3 separate regions of the Homo sapiens genome follow, and all the other regions are linked to region 3. Evidence: promoter capture Hi-C in 16 types of primary human blood cells and fetal thymus (Javierre and others, 2016). All regions are on one chromosome and are shown on one strand. Each heading gives the region's core, a stretch centred on a gene start or on the middle of the fragment in contact. The rest is flanking DNA. Distances are from core to core; before and after follow the strand shown. Region 1 overlaps XPNPEP2 (X-prolyl aminopeptidase 2). Region 2 overlaps UTP14A (UTP14A small subunit processome component). Region 3 holds the start of ZDHHC9 (zDHHC palmitoyltransferase 9).

Evidence for each region. The method cuts DNA at HindIII sites, captures the fragments that hold promoters and counts their contacts. A CHiCAGO score of 5 or more calls a contact.
Region 1: a fragment that was not itself captured here is called in contact with the fragment with the promoter of ZDHHC9 in region 3 in 6 of 17 cell types (activated CD4 T cells, neutrophils, non-activated CD4 T cells and 3 more); the score reaches 10.8 in activated CD4 T cells.
Region 2: a contact is called between a fragment that was not itself captured here and the fragment with the promoter of ZDHHC9 in region 3, in 13 of 17 cell types (activated CD4 T cells, M2 macrophages, M0 macrophages and 10 more). The highest score is 11.2, in activated CD4 T cells.

The regions. Positions count from the first base shown.
Region 1 is chrX:129,747,387-129,751,835 of GRCh38, forward strand. It overlaps XPNPEP2 (X-prolyl aminopeptidase 2), which reads left to right. Exons shown (of 21, transcript NM_003399.6): 7 at 221-367; 8 at 3,082-3,183; 9 at 4,359-4,440. Among named protein-coding and RNA genes, the nearest start is that of XPNPEP2, 11 kb to the left of the region's middle. The HindIII fragment of the contact is 2,211 bases long and covers 2,095-4,305 here.
Region 2 is chrX:129,924,047-129,928,840 of GRCh38, forward strand. It overlaps UTP14A (UTP14A small subunit processome component), which reads left to right. Exons shown (of 15, transcript NM_006649.4): 12 at 749-1,149; 13 at 1,873-2,066; 14 at 2,194-2,293. All of the region lies in intron 2 of LOC105373335 (a long non-coding RNA gene), which reads right to left. Among named protein-coding and RNA genes, the nearest start is that of UTP14A, 20 kb to the left of the region's middle. RefSeq lists a silencer at 1,688-1,737. The HindIII fragment of the contact is 700 bases long and covers 1,214-1,913 here.
Region 3 is chrX:129,841,992-129,847,019 of GRCh38, forward strand. ZDHHC9 (zDHHC palmitoyltransferase 9) reads right to left here and starts at 1,895. Exons shown (of 11, transcript NM_016032.4): 1 at 1,705-1,895; 2 at 1,268-1,335; 3 at 1-89. The HindIII fragment of the contact is 4,624 bases long and covers 1-2,677 here.

The sequences.
Region 1 (4,449 bases), core at 1,950-4,449, 93 kb before region 3:
CTCAGGGCATTAGGCTTGGAAAGCAGAAAGAGGATGAGAAACATACCCCAGCGTGGGCATACATGCCGGGGGTGGGGGGTGGGCAGGCTGCTGGGGCAGGCTCCGGGCAGCTGGGCTGCAAAGGGAGGCAAAGGGAACCAGGACTAACTTTGCCTGAATCACAATTTTTTCCTGGGGTGTAAATGGGCAAGGGACAAGTGACTCCTTCTTGTCTCTGCAGACACCTGGGAGAGTTATGATCTGGCCCTCCAAGGCTCTAACAGACAGCTGGTGTCCATCACAACCAATCTTGTGGACCTGGTATGGGGATCAGAGAGGCCACCGGTTCCAAATCAACCCATTTATGCCCTGCAGGAGGCATTCACAGGTGATTCAGTAAGCCCAGTTTCCTTCCCAACTTGTAGCAACGCAGGTCCCGGCTGCTATTCCGTAGGTGGCAAACTTCATCATCAGAGGTACCAAAGCAGTGGTTTGCAAACCTTAGCATGCACCTGAGTCACCTGGGATGCTTGTTTAAAATGCAGATTTCAGGGCCCCCTCCCCTTGAGGAGTCTGAATCAAAATGTCCTCCGGCCATATTTAGAAAATGTTGGGTTAAAGAATGTTAGGATTTGAAACAAGATGGAGCAGGAAGGGAGGAAAGAAGGGAAACAGAGAAAGATGAGAGAAAATATCCAACCCCTTTCAAGAGAGAAAAAATCATGATATGATTTGCTTGCCTGGTGGCAGAGACTGATCCATAATGAATCATTCAGACCTTTACTTCTGACCCTCTTGTGATGAAGAATTTAGATTTGTGAGATGGCTGGGGTCAGGTGGGCCAGGAGTGGACAGAGGAAGTAAATAACTAAGTTCAGAGTCATTCTGTAGCACAGATTACAGTTCAGGTTTTGCTGGACCAATCAGGAAGGTTAGAAAAATATAACATCAATAACCTTGACCCCGTTGACACTATCTAAATCCATCACAAAAGAACAGTATGTTGTAAGATTCCTGTAAGTCGTAACTAAAGTCCTGACCAGGACCAGCCTACTGATTATGAATCAGTGTCTTGGCCACCAACCAGTCCTATCTCCCTGGGAATTCTGAATGAGCCAATGAACTTGGATTCCTAGTAACATTGATCAAGCCAAGAGATCCCTTTCCGCATGCAAGTCCACATAATTTCTCACTTAGAAAGGAGCCAATACAGCAGGAGGGAGATTTCAAAATAGCAGCCATGACGAAACAAGTGAAAATTGTGTCCATTTTTCTTTATCTGTTCTGATGTAACTTCCAGAATCATTCTTTCTGCATCTTGACACCATTTTTAAAGAAATTTGTTATCCAAGACTGTTAAATCATAAATAAAACTCATCTTATTCAGATAAAGAAAGTCAAAGTTATGTCGGGAAGGGGAAGGGAAAAAAGAAAAACCTTCCTGGGGCTGGAAGGGTTTTGTCACTTCCCAAAAGTGAGGGGATGCCGAGTCATCACCCGCTGCCAGTCTTCAAGAAAAAGGCACCTGGAGCTTGAGTTTGGAAGCCGAAGAACAGAGTTCAGCTTCAATAAGCTTATAAAGACGAGAGAGACTTTCCAGCCACTTGCAGATTTTAAAGGAGAAAGGAGAGTGCAAAGGGCAGAACATGAAAAGTTCGCTACTCAAACATACCTGTACGCACCAGACCATTGAAATTTGGGTTCATTTGGTTTCTCAGAAAGGTATCATATTCCTGAACCTTGAAAACATAATTGCAAGTGAAAGAAGCCAGTCAGAGAAGGCCACATATTGTACAATTCCATTTGTATGAAATATCCAGCACTGGCAAATCCATAGAGACAGAAAATAGATTAGGGATTTCCTGGGGCTCAGGGGAGGGGGGATAGGGAGTGACTCCTTAGTGAGTACAGGGTTTCCTTTGGGGATGAAGAAAATGTTCTAGAATTAGATCGTGGCGATGGTTGCACAACATTGTGAGTATGCTGAAAGCCACTGAATTGTGCACTTTAAAAAGATTAAAATGATATGTTTTATGTTATGTGTAAAATACACATAACATAAATTATGTGTAAAATATGTAGTAAAATAAACCTACAAAAATGTATTGTACCCAAAGCTTTGGTCATTGTTGAATAGTTTTACCTGTTCACATGAAATATTTTTCACGACATTAAGTTATTTATGCTCATATCTGAACCCAACTAGGACCCTTAATGTTTATGGCCTTCGGCCAGCAAACTCCTAGTCCTGCCTAGGGGTAGACTCTTTGAATATCTTGCAGGGGGCAGGGATAGAAGATGAAAACTAAAGTCATAGAACCCAGATATAAGCATCTGAGAAAGGACGGTGCTGTGACACAGAGTTTAAGGACAGATTTGGAGACTGAGAATGTTATCAAGACAGTACGGTGTCTGTACAGATTAAGAGCGTGGGCCATGCAGTCAGACAGACCAGAGTTCAAATCCCAGCTCTACCTCTTGCATCCATGAAACCCTAGACAAGTCACTTTACCTCTCTGAAGCCTCAGTTTCCTTATCTGTAAAATGGGATGGGTAAGAATTAGAACAATGCACATGGAGTGCTTAGCCCAGTACCCGTGGCTTAGTAAATACTGGGGTTACTGCAGAGAAAGTTGAACACGGCCCCAGCCCTACCCCTTTGTCCTTCAACTAGGACTGCTCTCTTGATCTCAGTCTGCATGATTATTTATTAATCAGAAAGATACAAGAGTTACTACATCTCAAGATACCATTCTGTGTGCTTTACAAATATTAATTCATTCCATCCTCATAGCAGCCCTATTGAGGCAGATGCTTATTATACTCCATCCCCATTTTACAAATGTGCAAAATGGAACACAGAGGGGTTAGGTAATTTGCCCAAGGTCACCCATCCAGTAATGGCAAAGCCAGGATTTGAGCCCCATCTGGGTCCAGGGCCCATGTCATTAATGAGTACACAAGTAAGAGTTTGTTTGAGGAAAGGGTTTCGCTGCTTTTTAAGAGGATGCAAAACTGTTACCCTAAGGCTGACCTTCCAGGAACCGAGTGCCAAAGGCAAGGTCTGTCACTTACACTTTTTTGGGGCTCCTTTGCTTCTAGGGAGCACTTGGCAGGAGAAAGTATCTGGCGTCCGAAGCCAGATGCAGAAGCATCAAAAGGTCCCGACTGCCGTCCTTCTGTCGGCGCTTGAGGAGACGGCCTGTGAGTGTGGATTTGCAGACATGGGTGGGCGCCTGGGTCTCCCCAATGCCCCAAGCCTCCCGGGCCCTGCAGCACAGAGCTAGCTCTTCCCCAAATAACCATGTGCCCACCAATTCTTGAGAACTCCATGGCCACAGCCCGTGGGAACCAAGAAGGGTAAGGGGGCAGGAGCTCATGGCTTCAGAAAAAGGACAAAAGGTAGCCCTGAGCAAGCTGGGACCAGCCCACAGGCCACCAGAGGAACGAACTGACTATGGCAGCAAAGTGCTTCTGTCCCACTAAGGGGAGGAGGACCAGGAAATGCCTCCCAACAACTTAGCCACTACCCCAGGGCACTCACACTCCCAGCTTTAGCACCCAGTGGGACTCTACTCTTTCCGACATGGCTCAGGACTTCTTGTCTGATCCCTATGGCTGGGCTTCAGATATTCCAGGGACCCACTGGAACTGTGTGCTGACTGCTAAGTATCTGCATTTTTCTGGGGGGAAAAGATCCATAACTCTCAACAGCATCTCAAAGACGCCCACTCCCCCACCCCCCCCCCCCGGCAAAAAGATTGAGTAACATGCAGAGGTAGATGATACAAGCATGCTGTTGGTAATCTTTGGAGGCCAAAGGAAACAGTGGGGCAAAAGTGTCAGAAATGCTTGCCTCTGGCCGGGTGCGGTGACTCACGCCTGTAATCCCAGCACTTTGGGAGGCCAAGGTGGGCGGATCACCTGAAGTCAGGAGTTCAAGACCAGCCTGACCAACATGTTGAAACGCCGTCTCTACTAAAAATACAAAAATTAGCTGGGCATGGTGGCAGGCATCTGCAAACCCAGCTACCTGGGAGGCTGAGGCAGGAGACTTGCTTGAACCTGCGAGGTGGAGATTGCAGTGAGATCTTGCCACTGCACTCCAGCCTGGGTGACAGAGCAAGATACTGTCAAAAAAGAAAGAAAAGAAAGAAAAAGAAAGAAAGGAAGAAAGAAAGAAAGAAAGAAAGAAAGAAAGAAAGAAAGAAAGAAAGAAAGAAAGAAAGAAAGGAAGGAAGGAAGGAAGGAAGGAAGGAAGGAAGGAAGGAAGGAAGGGAGGAAGGAAAGAAGGAAGGAAGGAAAGGAAAAAAAGAGGAAAAGAAAAGCTTGCCTCAGGCAGATCAGCATTAAATATTCCTTGTCAATTCTCTTCCCAGGGCTCTTCAACCTTCGAGCCAGTGACATCCCCTATAACCCCTTCTTCTATTCCTACACGCTGCTCACAGACTCTTCTATTAGGTATGGCTT
Region 2 (4,794 bases), core at 314-2,813, 82 kb after region 3:
TTCTGGCTCCAGCAATCCTCCCAGCTTAGCCTCCCAAGTAGGTGGGACTACAGATCCACACCGCCATGCCTGGAAATTTTTTGTTGTTGTTGGAGGGGTGGAGGTGGTAGAGATGAGTTCTCACTATGTTGTTCAGGCTGGTCTCGAACTCCTGGGCTCAAGCTATCCTGCCCCCTTGGCCTCCCAAAGTGCTGGCATACAGGCGTGAGCCACCATATCCAACATCTCACATGCTACTTTTTTTTTTTTTTTTTTTTTGAGACGGAGTCTCGCTCTGTCACCTAGGCTGGAGTGCAGTGGCACAATCTCGGCTCACTGCAACCTCTGCCTCCCTGGTTCAAGTGATTCTCCTGCCTCAGCCTCCTGAGTAGCTGGACTACAGGCACATGCCACCATGCCCAGCTAATTTTTTGTATTTTTAGTAGAGATGGGGTTTCACCGTGTTAGCCAGGATGGTCTCGATCTCCTGACCTCATGATCTGCCCGCCTCGGCCTCCCAAAGTGCTGGGATTACAGGTGTGAGCCACCGCACCTGGCCACATGCTACTTTTAATTACCAAACTCCGTTGCCTGCTATGATTAGTGTACTGTCTAGGAGATTCAATGTACAGAATCTTCTTTTCCCCGTTTGTCCTTTTTATAATGTCTTATGTGGTACCTAGCACTTGGTGGGTGCTCAACAAATGCTTACCGACCAGACAACGTACAAACCTCATTTTCTGACAGTTTTCATTCTTTTTTCCCCCAGATTCTGGCAGCCAGGAGGTGCTGTCTGAATTGAGAGTACTATCTCAGAAATTGAAGGAAAACCATCAGTCCAGGAAGCAAAAAGCAAGTTCAGAGGGGACTATTCCCCAGGTCCAGAGAGAGGAACCTGCCCCAGAAGAAGAGGAGCCCCTGTTGCTACAGAGACCAGAGAGAGTACAGACGCTGGAAGAGCTAGAAGAGCTGGGAAAAGAAGAATGTTTTCAAAATAAGGAGCTTCCCAGACCTGTGTTAGAAGGGCAGCAGTCAGAGAGGACCCCAAATAATCGCCCTGATGCCCCTAAGGAGAAGAAAAAGAAGGAGCAAATGATCGACCTACAGAACCTCCTAACCACACAATCTCCCTCCGTGAAGTCTTTGGCAGTTCCCACAATAGAGGAGCTGGTGAGCAGAGCCAGGGTGGTGGGCCATTGTTCAGAAAGTGTCGTTCTTGCGCAAGGAGTAATGAAGCTTTGTTTTGCTGGGGGCACATTTCAGTAGTTTAGAGGTCCAGAATAGTATAGGGCCAGGCTAGTCCCAGTGACGTTTTAATAGATGCAGATATATGGGTGCTGCCAAGACCCCTATTTCCGAAAGCCTGATCCACAAAAACTCCTCTGGGGTGACTCTAAAACTGCTCTCAGAGGTAAGAGGGAGTAACTCAGAGTTCTGACCAGATCCCAGGCAGGACAACTTGAAGGTGAGTCATTGAACTGTTGCGAAAGTTTTATTCAGTGGGATCTCAGATGGTCTAAGACTCCCCAGTTAATCTGAAACTTAAAGTGAAGCGTCCTGGCACCTGTCTTTTCAGGGATATAAGCTGGAGGAAGCCTACAGTCTGGCCACTTAGAGCTCCTGCTGCTAACACGGGCCATTCCTTCCTCCACCCTGCAGCTTCCTTACTGAAAAGTTTAAAATTGTGTCATATGATAATGAGCTAGGGATATTTACCCTAGAGGGAAGAAAATTTGAGCATGATTGGCTGTGCACTGGTTTGTATCGCAAGACCATCATTGTTCAGCACTTCCCCCTAGGGGGCGCTAAAATGTCACGACCCGAAATTCAAGCGTTCTCGCCATGAACCACAGCTCATAAGCCAAGCTGTAGCTCTCGCTTGTTTCTTCCCAGGAAGATGAAGAGGAGAGAAACCATAGGCAGATGATAAAGGAAGCTTTTGCTGGGGATGATGTCATCAGAGATTTCTTGAAAGAGAAGAGGGAAGCTGTGGAGGCGAGTAAGCCAAAGGACGTGGACCTGACACTACCTGGCTGGGGCGAGTGGGGTGGTGTGGGCCTAAAGCCCAGTGCCAAGAAAAGACGCCGGTAAGAATGCCGAAGAAAGTCTGTCAAAAGGGCACCGGGTTCTCCCCTCGCCCTTCGGTGTCCTCCCTACCCTTTTGACTAAGTCCTTAATGCTCCTAGTCAGATGTCCTGTTGTTTTGCTTTCCAGGTTTCTCATTAAAGCCCCTGAGGGTCCTCCAAGAAAAGATAAGAATTTGCCAAATGTGATTATCAATGAGAAGCGCAACATCCACGCAGCTGCTCATCAGGTGAGAGCTTAGAGAGCTCTTTAGCTGCCTGCTTGTTACTGCCTGGCTCTCTTGCTTGAGAGGAGTATTCTAGTGATCTGTAGTCAAGAGAGACGTGTGATCTTGACCGCAGAATCAAATCTGTTGTTTTCACTGAATGGCTGTTAGATTTATCATTTCAGATAGACTACGCTGTTTTAATTACTGGCCAGGAAAAAAGTTTAGAGTCAAGGTAATGCTCAAACAGAGGCTATAAGGTTTAAGCTGTAGCTTAAGAAAAATGAAGACAAACCGGTACTTGTTCAGGAGAATGAGAAGATTGTAAGTTGTGTCACATGATAATGAGCTAGGGATGTTTACAAGAGAAGAAAATTTGAGCGTGATTACGGTGTTCAAGTATATCGAAGGTTATTGTATGAAGTCACATAAAGTAGAAGTTAGAGGACATACAGAATTCAAGGCTGCTCTGGGAGTATGAGAATGTGTAAAGGGGACTCAAGAACGAGATTGGACTAGATGACCTTTATGTTCCCTTCAATTCTGAGATCTGTCCCCAGCCAGTATATTGAAATGAGTTACATTTTTCCCTCGGAAGGAATAAAGAATTAATGGCTACAGAACAGAGGTAAGAAGATACACATTTCAATAACATTCTTTTTGATCTTATTTTGTGAACCAATCACTGCAGAAACTGAATCATAACTACTGCAGTCCCAATTAAACCTATATAACTAGAAAATAGGCAGTTACACGATAAGGGAAGGGGGGAAAGGGTGCTTCAGTGGGCCAGGATTCCAGGTGATGGGTAGAGTATGGAGCTCAATAAAGACCACCCTTCCCTTCCAGGGGTCTGTTTGTTTTTTTAATACAGTCATGGCAAACTGACAAATAGTTTTCTAGGAATCTCCCCTGATTTTCATCTTTTTAATAAGTTACTGCAGGTTCCAACATGCAGTAGAATAAAGTGCTTCAAGGTGCCTAGGGGGGACTTCTGAGACTGAATACTTTGTCCAGGTGTTCTCTTTTTCTGTTGCCCTGGTTGACAAGCACAGATGTAGCCGTCAACCCAAATAAGACATTCCCTTAACTTAAAGAGAATCTGTTTCCTTTGCTACTACCAGGACCACCTGATAGTACTTAGCTTCTCTTGAGTATTCCACTGAATGTTTCCAGAGACTACTGATTTTTGTTTGTTTGTTTTGTTTTCAGATGGAGTCTCACTCTGTCACCCAGGCTGGAATGCAGTGGCACGATCCCAGCTCACTGCAACCTCCACCTCCCAAGTTCAAGCTATTCTCGTGTCTCAGCCTCCTGAGTAGCTGGGATTACAGGCATGCGCCACCACACCCAGCTTATTTTTGTATTATTAGCAGAGACAGGGTTTCACCATGTTGGCCAGGCTGGTCTTGAACTCCTGACCTCAAGTGATCTGCCTGCCTCGGTCTCCCAAAGTGCTGGGATTACAGGTGTGAGCCACCGTACCCTGCCAAAGACTACTGATTTTTACATCCCCATTTTCTGCTTACGTGTTTTCCTCCTTTGGCCACTGGGGAAGTGTTGAAAGATTATTTAATGTCTGAAGGTAGCAATGTGGTGGAGGAGTACCAGGCAAGGAAACAGGAGCTTTGGGTTCTGTTCTCCAATGCTGCTCCTCATTTACTTAGGTCCATCACTTCCCCCCTCTAAGCCAAATCTTCAGGCCAAGGGAGATGACCATTGTCAATATCTAGGGCCTTCCAGCTCTACATTCTGTGGTGCCAAAAGAAGATGAAGCTAAGTGGGCCGGGCATGGTGGTTCACACCTGTAATCCCAGCACTTTGGGAGGCCAAGGCGGGTGGATCACAAGGTCAGGAGATCGAGACCATCCTAACACAGTGAAACCCCATCTCTACTAAAAAAAAAAATACAAAAAAAAATTAGCCAGGCATGGTGGCAGGCCCCTGTAGTCCCAGCTACTAGGGAGGCTGAGGCAGGAGAATGGTGTGAACCTGGGAGGCGGAGCTTGCAGTGAGCCGAGATCACGCCACTGCACTCCAGCCTGGGAGACAGAGCGAGACTCCATCTCAAAAAAAAAAAAAAAAAAAAAAAAAAGATGAAACTAAGTGTAACGGCCTGGTAGAGTTCAGGATTCGGGTTCCTTAAAACATCAATCCTGGCCAGGCGCGGTGGCTCACGCCTGTAATCCCAGCACTTTGGGAGGCTGAGGCGGGTGGATCACGAGGTCAGGAGATCAAGACATCCTGGCTAACACGGTGAAACCCCGTCTCTACTAAAAATACAAAAAATTAGCCGGGCGTGGTGGTGGGCACCTGTAGTCCCAGCTACTCGGGAGGCTGAGGCAGGAGAATGGCGTGAACCCAGGAGGCAGAGCTTGCAGTGAGCGGAGATCGTGCCACTGCACTCCAGCCTGGGCGACAGAGCGAGACTCCGTCTCAAAAAACAAAAAAAAAATATCAATCCTAAGAGAGGGAAGGAGGAGACTGAAAGCATAAAGAGGGTAGAAAAGTCATAAAATCCACAG
Region 3 (5,028 bases), core at 645-3,144:
AGAAACAGAGGCTGAGCCCAGCTTTGAAATCACGTTGCCTGCTATTCCTGCCGCTGGGTCAAACATCATCAAAAGTCCAATTGCTAGCCCTAAGAAAAAGCAGAAAAAGAAAAAAAAATGAGGCAATAATAAGAAAATACAGTTCAACCCTCCTTTCCCAGAGACAGAAAGTTGAAAACTGACTGAAGGGGTGGGGACGGGGAAGTGGGAAAAGTTTATTTCCAATTCGTGTTTGTTCTCTAAAAGAAGGTATGATAAAAGGTTCTCAAAAAAGGAAAGGGGCTAGTATTTCTTCTTAAATAAGCCTCTATGCTTCCAATCTAATGCTGATGATCTGATCATCACAGAACCTTGGAACTAGAGAGGATTTTATAGGTGATCGTGCCAATTATTAATACTTTGTTTTGTAAATGAGTAAACTGAGGACCAGAGAGAGGAAATAACTTATCCAGGACCACACAGCAGCAATGCTGATACTGCTAACTTCCAGTCAAGGGCATGTTCCACTATGCCACAGTGTTCTTTCAACATCATTAAAAGGACTCTAAAAATAATAGTAGAGTTTCTGTCCTTATAAAACCTCCCTCCCTTCCTCCACTTCACCTTCTTTCTTCAATTAGCCACTCGAATATGAATCACAGCAGGGAACAAGTCACCCTCTGGCAGGGCCAGGAGGTTCTGGACGCTCTGTGCACATACGTGCATTGTATTTACACAAAACAGATTTCCCCTCATCAAACCCTCTGCAACTTCCTGAGTCCGGGAAATGAAACAATCTGGCTGGTCTAGCCTAACATTTGTGAGAATCTTAATGAAACCACATCAGAGACCTGTAGGTGAAAGGCTGACTTAAGCAGGAGAGATTCTGGAATGGTTGGTGACTGCTGATGGCTGGTTGGGGGGTGGGGAATGGCAGCAGCTAAGAAAAGTCACAAGGGCGCTTTCTGGGACATGTCCTAAGTACCATCTCTACTCAGCATCCTGAATTCCCAGGCCCAGAGTTTCTCAGCCTCTGCTACCCTTCTCCTCCGCTCAGGTGTGGTGTTGTGGCCTCTATTTACCGACACCACATGCCCCACGCTGGCAGGACTGAGGCGGAAGCCTGCAGCCCGACGGACGGAGGGAGAAACAGCCAACTCGCGGGCTGGAGAGGGCAAAGGTCCAAAAACAGCCTAGGAGCGGAGCAGGGAAACGAGAAGGTAGAAGGTTCGGGGAAGGGGAGGGGGGCCCAGAGGTGCAGAGAACCCGTCCTTTGTGTAAAACTAACCTGGAAGACAATCTCCTCCCGATAAACCGGCCCAGCGGGAGAAGGGAGACCAGGAAGGGGGAGCCGGCCTGGAAGAACAAAGATCAAAATCCGTCGGGAAGCAGCGACCGGCTCCCCAGCGGGGGGCCGGAGGCCGGAGGCCGGAGTCCGGGGCCGAGCCGCGGGCGCGGCCTCTCGAGGCCCGCCCTGACTCCGCCACGCCGCGGACCACCGCCCCAGGCAGGTTGGGACGCGCGCCACATCCACACGCACACGCAGCCACACGCTCGTACACACTCACACACGCCCCGCCACGTGTAGTCACCCCGGGCCAGGGGCTCGGCGGCTGCCGAGTTGAGAAGGGCGGTGCCGACGTCCCCGCCTCCAGGCGCCGCGGAAGGGGAGGCAGCCCACCCTGCAGCCGAGCCCAGGAGACCCCCGCCCCCACCCCTCGTTACCTGAACCACGGAGACCCAACTCGGCCGGCAGCTGACGGCAGGAAACGGACCGTCCCAGGGAATCACGTCGGCAGCCAAAGGTGGCAGCGACTTGTCCTCCCCGGGCCGGGAGGCTGTCTCCTCCTGACAAGGGGCCCCAGTGGTCGGGGCCCTAAACCAGCTGTGGCAACCGCCCACCACTGGCCAAATGGAACGCTCCTCACGTCACCAGGTCGCTCCAGTAGTTGCTCGCCCTCTATTGGCCGATCGGCCTCGGCGCCTCCGCCCCGGCCGCCCCTATCCCGAACTGCCATTGGTTTTGCCTAACGCCACTCGACGATGCCTCCGCCCACTCCTCCACCCATCTCCCTGCTGCATGCCCACCTGCCAAGCCACTGCCAGCCTCTCTTTGGGGTCTGAGCGCCAGTATGTGAAGTGTTGCCTTCTATTAATATAGTTACGCAGAGACGGAGGTTAAGGGTAGTGCCGATGGGACAGCAAAGGGTGGAACCAGCCTACACACACGCGCGCGCGCGCGCACACACACACACGCGCGCGCACACACACACACAGTGAGATGCTGAAGCAACACTAGCTCACAGATCCGGGTGCTCACCCCAAACTAGGTCTGCCATGGGCCTCTCCAGCCCTGCTTGCATTTTAAAATCAACCGCAACTTGAGATTTTACTCTTTATCGGCATAAAAACAAGTCATCTGCCTCCCAAGTCTCATTCAGTAGCCAGGGACCCCATATCTGTCCCAGTCACCCTAGCCTGCATCTCTAAGTCTTTCAAATCAAAACACACAAACAAGCATAAAAAGCATGTTGTAAAGGATAAATGTCCCCAAGAACGTATTATCATTTTGCAGCACCTAAAACAACTAATTGACATTAATGGAGTTAAAGAAACTCCACTGAGGACATAAATTCTTCCAGGTAGGTAATGAAGTAAAGATTGCCAAAAAGGTTGTAAATTTTTATTCGGTTTGGAAAGCTTATGATGATTAAGGGGAGAATCCAAGGCAGAATTCCCACCCACCAACCAGATTGATTTTTTCCTTCTGCCACCCAGCTCTGCATTACTGCCACCATGAGCCACTGCTACTGATCCGAGTGAGTTGCATGCATTAAAAGTTTGAGATTGGGCTGGGCGCGGTGGCTCACGCCTGTAATCCCAGCACTTTGGGAGGCCGAGGCAGGTGGATCACCTGAGGTCAGGAGTTCAAGACCAGCCTGGCCAACATGGCAAAACCCGTCTCTACTAGAAAGACAAAAGTTAGCGGGGAGCGGTGGGACTCGCCTGTAGTCCCAGCTACCAGGGAGGCTGAGGCAGGAGGATCACTTGAACCCAGGAGGTGAAGGTTGCAGTGAGCCAAGATCATGCCACTGCACTCCAGCCTGGGCGACAGAGAGAGACCCTGTCTTAAAAAAAAAAAAAAAAAAGTTTGAGATTGAAGGGGGGAAACAATTGAGAACCACAGTATTATACTATAGGGTGACTTTAAAAGACACTAGGTCTGTTTTCACCAGTATGGCTCCTGCCTTCCAAATATAAGAGGAAATATGAGAAAAGGTTGAAGGTGGCATCTCCTTTCCAAGTGTAAGAGGAGATAAGAGAAAAGGTTGAAGATTGGAGGAGAATGCCTACATTACCAGCCTAGGTTTTCCTAAGCGTGATAAAAATTTCAAAGTTTTAGAGATTTGGTATTTGGAATTAGTACAGAAGAGACTGCCAAAGCTCTTCCTAAGGCAGTTGTATGTTAGTTGAAGGACCACATACATGGTCAAGAACTATTTTTCCTTTACAGTATATGTGTCCCACACAATATGAAACAAAAAGCTACATAATAATTACATTTGACACTTTCATGGCACCCTTCAAAATTCTTAAAGGATTTAAAAAACACTAGGTAATTCTGAGATGTGTTGTAATTAACTTGCAAAGGAAGGTTTGTCTTTATAAAGCTTCCATTGTTCCTTAGCACTCATGCTGATTATGATCAACAGTTTATTCCTCATGAAGTGTACGATCAGTATCATTGCCTCCAATTCTCCCGCTTTGAATTCTGGAGGGTGCTGGTATTGCACACACTTGGTATGGGAGGGAGAAGAACTTCCCTAAACCTCATCAGCCCTGTGGATTTCCAAGCCTATGTATATCAGATGCCCTTAGGAATAGTATGGTCACCCCAGCTGCCATCCTTCTGACTATGGAGCAGTGAAAAATAAGCCTCTGTAGCACTCAAACATATTTTGTCCATAGCTCAGGTGCAGGTGAAGCCTGAGGAGTCCTGGAATCGATGTGTCATGGTGACACATTCCTGAGCTCTGTCCCTCCCTGCTCTGGGTCACATTCCCTCTCGGACTAAGTGGCTATGTGAGTCAGGCTTGTTTTATTACAATCTGTTATTATTTATTCTCAACACTCAAAGAAAAATAAGGAAAATTTATGTGGACAAACATCCCATAGTACTTCCTCCTATGTAGTTACATCATTTTATATAATCCTTAAAGTCTTAATACACACACACAACTAAATTGTGACTATAAACTGAGACTGTTTTTTCCTATTCTTTTCTCTTCTCTTTTCAACAGACTTCCCACTTTTTACATCCAAGTCAGTGTTGGCTCTTTTGAAAAGAGGTTATAGGCCGGGCACAGTGGCTCACGTCTGTAATCCCAGCACTATGGGAGGCCAAGGCAGGCAGATCACTTGAGGACAGGAGTTTGAGACCAGCCTGGCCAACATGGTGAAACCCTATCTCTAGCCAGGCATGGTGGCAGGTGCCTGTAATCCCAGCTACTCAGGAGGCTGAGCATGAGAATCACTTGAATCTGGGAGGCGGAGGTTGCAATGAGCCCAGATCGCTCCACTGCACTCCAGCCTGGACGACAGAGCGAGATTCCATCTAAGAGAGAGAGAGAGAGAGAGAGAGGGAGAGAAAGAAAGAAAGAAAGAAAGAGAGAGAAGAAAAGGGGTTATAGTCATGTGATGAGCACTAGAAACACCACAAAAATCAAGGTATAGCCTTCCAGTTTATAAGACAGCTCCTTGTGTTATCATGTATGTTCTGGAGTATTTGTTTAAAAATACCTGTCTCCACATTTATTCTTCATGTGTGTGTGTTTGTGTGTGTGTGTGTGTGTGTGTAGGCGTGTGTAGGTGTAGGTGTAATGTGCTGTTTGATCCTGAGTGCCACCACTGGGTTGAAGCTTTCCTGTTAGTGTTGCTTCAAAGACTCTTCTGTAACCACCCGGAGACCCATTCAGTACTACATCCAGGAGCAGACATAAAGCATCAGCCCCCATCCTGCTTTTGAGCTCATGATAGCTCCTTTATTCT